Regions from separate parts of the Homo sapiens genome. Here region 2 is linked to region 1. The links are contacts of gene promoters, found by promoter capture Hi-C in blood cells and fetal thymus (Javierre and others, 2016). All regions are on one chromosome and are shown on one strand. The core of a region is centred on a gene start or on the middle of the fragment in contact, and the rest is flanking DNA. Distances in the headings are between cores, read along the strand shown. Region 1 holds the start of DYRK2 (dual specificity tyrosine phosphorylation regulated kinase 2). Region 2 has its middle 73 kb from the start of LINC02420.

Evidence for each region. The method cuts DNA at HindIII sites, captures the fragments that hold promoters and counts their contacts. A CHiCAGO score of 5 or more calls a contact.
Region 2: a contact is called between a fragment that was not itself captured here and the fragment with the promoter of DYRK2 in region 1, in 1 of 17 cell types (M2 macrophages). The highest score is 5.4, in M2 macrophages.

What each region holds. Positions count from the first base shown.
Region 1 is chr12:67,647,254-67,650,271 of GRCh38, reverse strand. DYRK2 (dual specificity tyrosine phosphorylation regulated kinase 2) reads right to left here and starts at 1,527. Exons shown (of 3, transcript NM_006482.3): 1 at 1,090-1,527; 2 at 327-475. The coding sequence starts at 1,138. RefSeq lists silencers at 135-524, 685-1,344, 1,355-1,654, 1,755-1,864. The HindIII fragment of the contact is 7,364 bases long and covers 1-3,018 here.
Region 2 is chr12:67,368,589-67,371,432 of GRCh38, reverse strand. No RefSeq gene overlaps it. Among named protein-coding and RNA genes, the nearest start is that of LINC02420, 73 kb to the left of the region's middle. The HindIII fragment of the contact is 811 bases long and covers 974-1,784 here.

The DNA of each region.
Region 1 (3,018 bases), core at 278-2,777:
GGAAGGGAACTCTGGGATGCAAGGACGAAAAATGAGGAAAGAAGGAAAGCAGCAAGGAGGAAGTTCCTAGGAAGAGGAGGTCATGGGTGGGCGAGCTCTGGAGGGGAAGTAAGGGGCCCACGCCACGAATCTTCCTTTGTGGCTGCAGCTTTGGGCTCGCCCAACTTAACCAGGGCGGCGTCGACGAGAGACCATCGGCCCGAGGCGTGGGGCTGCTTGTATCTCGACCCCTCTTCTCCCGGCGTCAGACCCCTCCAAGTCCGGGTGCTTCGGCCTGGGGCCCCTCCCGCCCCCACCGCCCGGGCCGCCCGCGGGCTGGGTCTCACCGTGTGGGCTGCGGCGGCAGCGTTGCTGGCCCGGAGAGGCGGCAGGGCGATGGGGGAGGGCGGGCCAGTCCCCACTCCGCTCCGGGTGGCCCCTGCACCGAGCCCCGGGGAAGCCTGAAGCTGACGAACGGCGCTGTCCCCACCTCGGCCTGGAAGCCACGTGCGGGAGGAGACAAAAGAGGGTCAGGGGGGAGAAAGTCACCCAGACCCCCCCTCCAACCCCGCTGGGCAGCGACAACCCTCTTCCAAAGAAAGACGGAGGAAGAGACCGGGGCAGTAAAAACGGGCGTTCGGGTCACGGCTCCCCAGCGCACACCCACGGGCGGGGCGCGGGCAGCTGCAAAGTTAAGTGGGGCCCTGGCGCGCGAGTTCGCGACCCGGCGGGGGAGCCGGGCCGCGCCGGGGCTAGGCGGCCCACGTTGCAGACGGCCAGCAGCCGGGAGGTGGGTTTGGACAGCTGAGCAGGGAGCCACGGCCACGCCAAGCCCCGGGCAGCGCAGGGCGGGGCGGCAGGCCTGGACGGTCCCCGCCCGGGCCCCCGGCAGGCAGAAGCCTCTTCGGGCCGAGGGCTCCCCGCGGAGGGGCCTTCGGGGCCGCGCACAACCCTGCATGGAGCCCGGGGCGCGTCGTCCGCCCGGGGGCTCCCCCGCGCCGCGCCGCCGACTTTGTTCGAGGTCCCGCAGGCAGCGGCCGCCCGCGCCACAGGGGCTGCCCAGGGCCGGCGGGGGTCCGGGGATGCGGCGCGGCGGCACGGCCTCCTTACCGGTCGGGTAGGCGGCGGGAGCGGCGGCCGAAGGTTTCCTGGTTAACATGGCCGCTGGAGAGGAAAATGCATTTCAGGGCTGCCGTCGCCGCCGCCGGTCCTGCTGCTACTTCTGGCGGCCGCCGCCGCCGCCTCCCGGCCGCCCCTCGCGCGGGTCCCCGGCGCCTCGTCGCCGCCTCGCGTCTGCTACAGCCAGACACACACAGTCCACTGCATCCCCTCGGCCGGGGCCCGCCGCCGCGAGCCCCCCGCTCTCCTCCTCGCCGCCGTCCTCCTCTTCCTCGGGCGGCTGCAGCACCCTCCGGCCCGTGCACATGCCTCGCCCTCCCCTGCGCGCCGCGGGCCTCCCCGTCTCCCTCACATAGGGGCGCGGGGAGCTGGAAGCGCTGCGAGGACCGAAGACCGCCTGGCTCGGGAGCCTCTCCCGGGCCCGCGCGCGCGCGCCCCCGCGCACTCACACACAGGCGCCGGCGCGCGGCCCCGCCCCCGCCGCCCTCCGCCGCCCTCCTCCGCCGCCGCAGGCCCCGCCCCCGGCTCCCCCGGCCGCGGCCACGCACACCCCACCCCCACCCAACCTCCCGCCCGGCTCCTCTCAGTCCCCCGGTTTGCGCGCAGCCGCCCCTCCGCTCCCCGGAAAACTCGGCGGCCTCCGCTCGCCCTCCTCCGCCCCCTCCGGCCATCTGCACTGCTTCCCTCGGCTCCACTCCGGCGACCTTTTCCCCTCCCCGGCCCCGCGGCGCCCCTTCTCTGCCCTACAGCTCAACCTACCGCTGCTGCCCTCCGGCCGAAAGCGCCGCAGAGACCCCTCCCCTGCCATGCGCACCCCTAAACATAAATGCATTTTCAGCTCTTCGAACTGAATGGCTGCTCACAGACAGTACTGCTTCCCCGTCCCCCCATTCTTGGTCCCAGCGACTTAGCCACTCCCCTCTCCCCAATTCATCATGTAGATAACTTAGTTGTGCGAGGGTCACCTCGGAGAGGCAAGTCCCGGGAGGGGCGGCCGCTGAGCTCGTTGACCCTGAGCAGGGGCGAAAGAGGGGGCTGCCCTCCCACCTCCACCACACACCCTCCCCGGTTTACTGACACCAAGTGACCGCTCGCCAGTCGCTAGGACAAGGGGAGGCAGAGAGGCGCGTGTGGACGGCAGCTGGGGAAGCAGTTGGCTGTGGGTTGCTAGGCAAAAATAAACATCAGAGACATCTCCTATTTCCTTACAACTCCGAGCCTTTCCCCTGCGCGGCCACTGGGAGAGACACACCTTCCTTTCAGCTCTGCGGTGAGGGAGCGACACCTCGAATTCCTCTCACCCCACCCGACACATCTCTTTCCCCCTTCCCTTCCAAGACACGTGGAGAATTTCCCTGCCTTTTTTATTCGCCATATACAACCTCTCTTTTCCTTGAAGACCAAAAAAAAATTGCTTTCCCGTCTCACATCCGCGCCTCGTCGTGCGTGGCACACAGTGCGCCTCTGTTCAAAGGTCACAGGTTTTGCCACTTCAACTGTGAGAGGAGGTGGGGTGGGAAAGCCCGACAAATCCCGGATGACGGGGCAGAGTTATGCCATGCACTTCCTTCTCGAGAGGTGCCTAGTTTCTGAAGTTCTCTTGGGGCCAGGGGTCCATTATGCTCTGCCCCGCCCGAGTATCTCTGGCTCCTGGCTGGACCTACTGTGCAGGCCCGAACTAGTGCAGACTCCAGTCGGAAGGGAGCCACCTCCTGCGGAGTTTCATCCACTCTACTGTTTGCAAATTGTCATAGCAACCTCCTACAGAGCGCATCCGCAGCTTTATACAAACGCCAAAAACTGTTTCAAGGTACAGTGTGACCCTCTCAGAGTCTCTGGGACTCCTAAAGAGGCCTCCAAGTTAGGGTCACTGGGAGAGGGAACCTGTGACAAAAAGAATTTTCCCTAGTATTACGTCCC
Region 2 (2,844 bases), core at 130-2,629, 280 kb after region 1:
GTGGGCATTAAAACATATGTAAAAATTAAAATATATGAATATATGACTACAATAGCACAAAGGGTAAGAGGCAGTAACTACAGTTAAACCATCATAAGCTTTTTCATTGTTTGGGTGAAGCTTAAGGAAGGTGTTTTATAGTTAGTCAGGAATGCATTTTAAAATTTCTAGGGTAATCACTAAAAATAAACACAAGAGTGCATACTTAAAAAGTTAACTGAGCAGAAAAACTTAACCAATATCCCTGATGACTAAACCTTTCTCAGATCTACAATTCAATGTATAACAGTTGGCCCTAGAACATGACATTTTATTACATTCCCCCTGTTGGTTCCTGTGCTCACTCATTTCATGCCCACTGCAGTAGAACTTAGAAGAACATCCAGCAAATTTTTTTACAAATTGCTCATAGCTGTAATTATTAAGTACCACACATTATAAAAATACAAATCTATTCAGAGGCCACTAAAGAAAAATAAACAAGCATAAGCATAAATAATATCTAGCAATGAATAGAGAGGAAGAAGATAAATTTTTAGTATCAGTGCAGTGTTCCCAAGGGCACCTTCTATCATAAAACAAAGTAGAGGCCAATGAATACAGAAGAGTTTTCTCATTATCTCAGGCTTTCCCTGAATGAAACTATTAACTCTTACAAATCACAGACTCCTGTAGGAAGTGAACCACTGCTGTATCAAAAACAGGAATGAGATCACCAGATTTTCTTTCTCAACTTTGCATTCTGACAACAATCCCAGGCTCAGAGATTCGGAGGGATGGTTTACTGACATTTTGACAAGAGTCATGGTAACTACTACTACCACTGCTGATGCCGCTGCCATCCCTGTGCCTGCTGTTGATACTAACACTTGTTTGGCACGTTAGTTTGTAAAATATGTCAATATGCATTATTTCTTTACAGAAGTCCTAGGAGAAACATATCATAACATCTTCTTATTATCATACATAAGCTTATATGTGATAAGAAAACTGCAGTTCTAAATAAAGAACTTGTACATTTTGGGACATGTTTGCTACATGGCAAGCATTATCTAATACAGCAACCAAAATTAATATTCTGTCAGTGCTATTGTAAAACTGTTCAGGCAAGCAGTTGGCTTTCTATCTCTAACAGCCATCCAGCTTGTTCAATATCACAGGCCTAAATCCAAATTTTATCCTTCATAAGAAATAAAAACCAAATACAATGAAAGATGAAAGTAAATAATAGTGAAAGGAATCAAAGGGTTACAGTTACATGCAATGAAGACCTCAGTTGTTCATTTAACAAAGCTAGAACTATCCAAAATACACAGAGCTTTATGTGAAAATGACGAGAATTGAATACGATGAGAACTGATGCTCTTCATTTCAGAGATATATTACCCAAAGCAAGTCAACCCTGAAAGATGGGACATGTAGAAGCGATTAGAAGACAACATGCAATAATGCCCTTTATGGCTATTTATTTAATGTGTGTTCCCAACCTGCCACTTTAAACTTAATCCTCACTTTTATCTCTAGTAGATAGTACAGAATCTGGTATATATCAGGTTCTCAAAAGAATATTTCTGAATAAATAAGACTTGCCTAACCTTGTAATTCTACCTTAGCACTATCTCACTACTGTTTCTCGTAGATGTTTCTTATCAGCTTCTTGGAGCACAAGGGCCATGCTAGCTGCCACCTGATTCCCCAACAGCAAATATGTCTATGTGTGCATGTGCATGCACATGTGTGTGTATTGTATGTGTGTTTAAAGATGGTGAATGTGTCAGTAAGCTTTCAAACAATAGAGTAGACAGAAGTAAAGAAGTTGAAAATAAGGAGAAAGAGGGGATAATAGAATGAAAACTTTTTTTTAACCCTGACTTGAACACAGCCACAATAAAAGAATTTTTTTAGACAAATTAGGAAATTTGAATATGAAGTGGCTATTAGATGATACCAAGGAATAATTATTAATTCTGTTAGGTATGATAATGTCATTGTGGCTACACAAGAATATGTCTATTTTCTTTTTCTTTTTTTTTTTTTGAGATGGAGTCTCGCTCTGTCACTCAGGCTGGAGTGCAATGGCGCGATCTCGTCTCACTGCAACCTCTGCCTCCTGGGTTCAGACGATTCTCCTGCCTCAGCCCCCCTAGTAGCTGGGATTACAGGTATGCGCCACCATGCCCAGCTAATTTTGTATTTTCAGTAGAGACAGGGTTTCACCATGTTGTCCGGGCTGGTCTTGAACTCCTGACCTCAGGTGATCTGCCCACCTCGACCTCCCAAAGTGTTGGGATTACAGGCACGAGCCACAGTGCCCAGGCAAATATGTCTATTTTTTAAAAACATACAAACTAAAATATGTAAGATGAAAAGCCAAGGTGCCTGGCCAAATCTAGTAATTGTTGAATCTGGATAATAGATACATGAGTTTATTATTCTACTCTCTATATTTTCACATATGTATGCACAGTTAATAATAAAGAATTTTAAAAAATACTATTAGTCCTTCACATTTTACAATGAATAGATTCCAACAAAGGGTAGGAAGGACAACATAAAATCACAAGAACACGGTTCAAGATCAAGATCTAGCACCTTAGAAAAATGAGTCTCAATAAGAGTCTCAGCTTCCTCATCGGCACGGTAGAGATAAATGATCTCTGACATATTTTAAGTGACTAGGCTATTGTAATTTTCAAATAAGAAAATGTGTACAAGGGCATTTAGAACAAAATCTTTAAAGTGGCTCTGTGGCACAATGGATAGTGCATTGGACTTCTAATAAAGAATAAAATCTTTAAAGGACTATGTCTCTGCAGTAATAATTGAGGCAGAGCCTAAATGGTA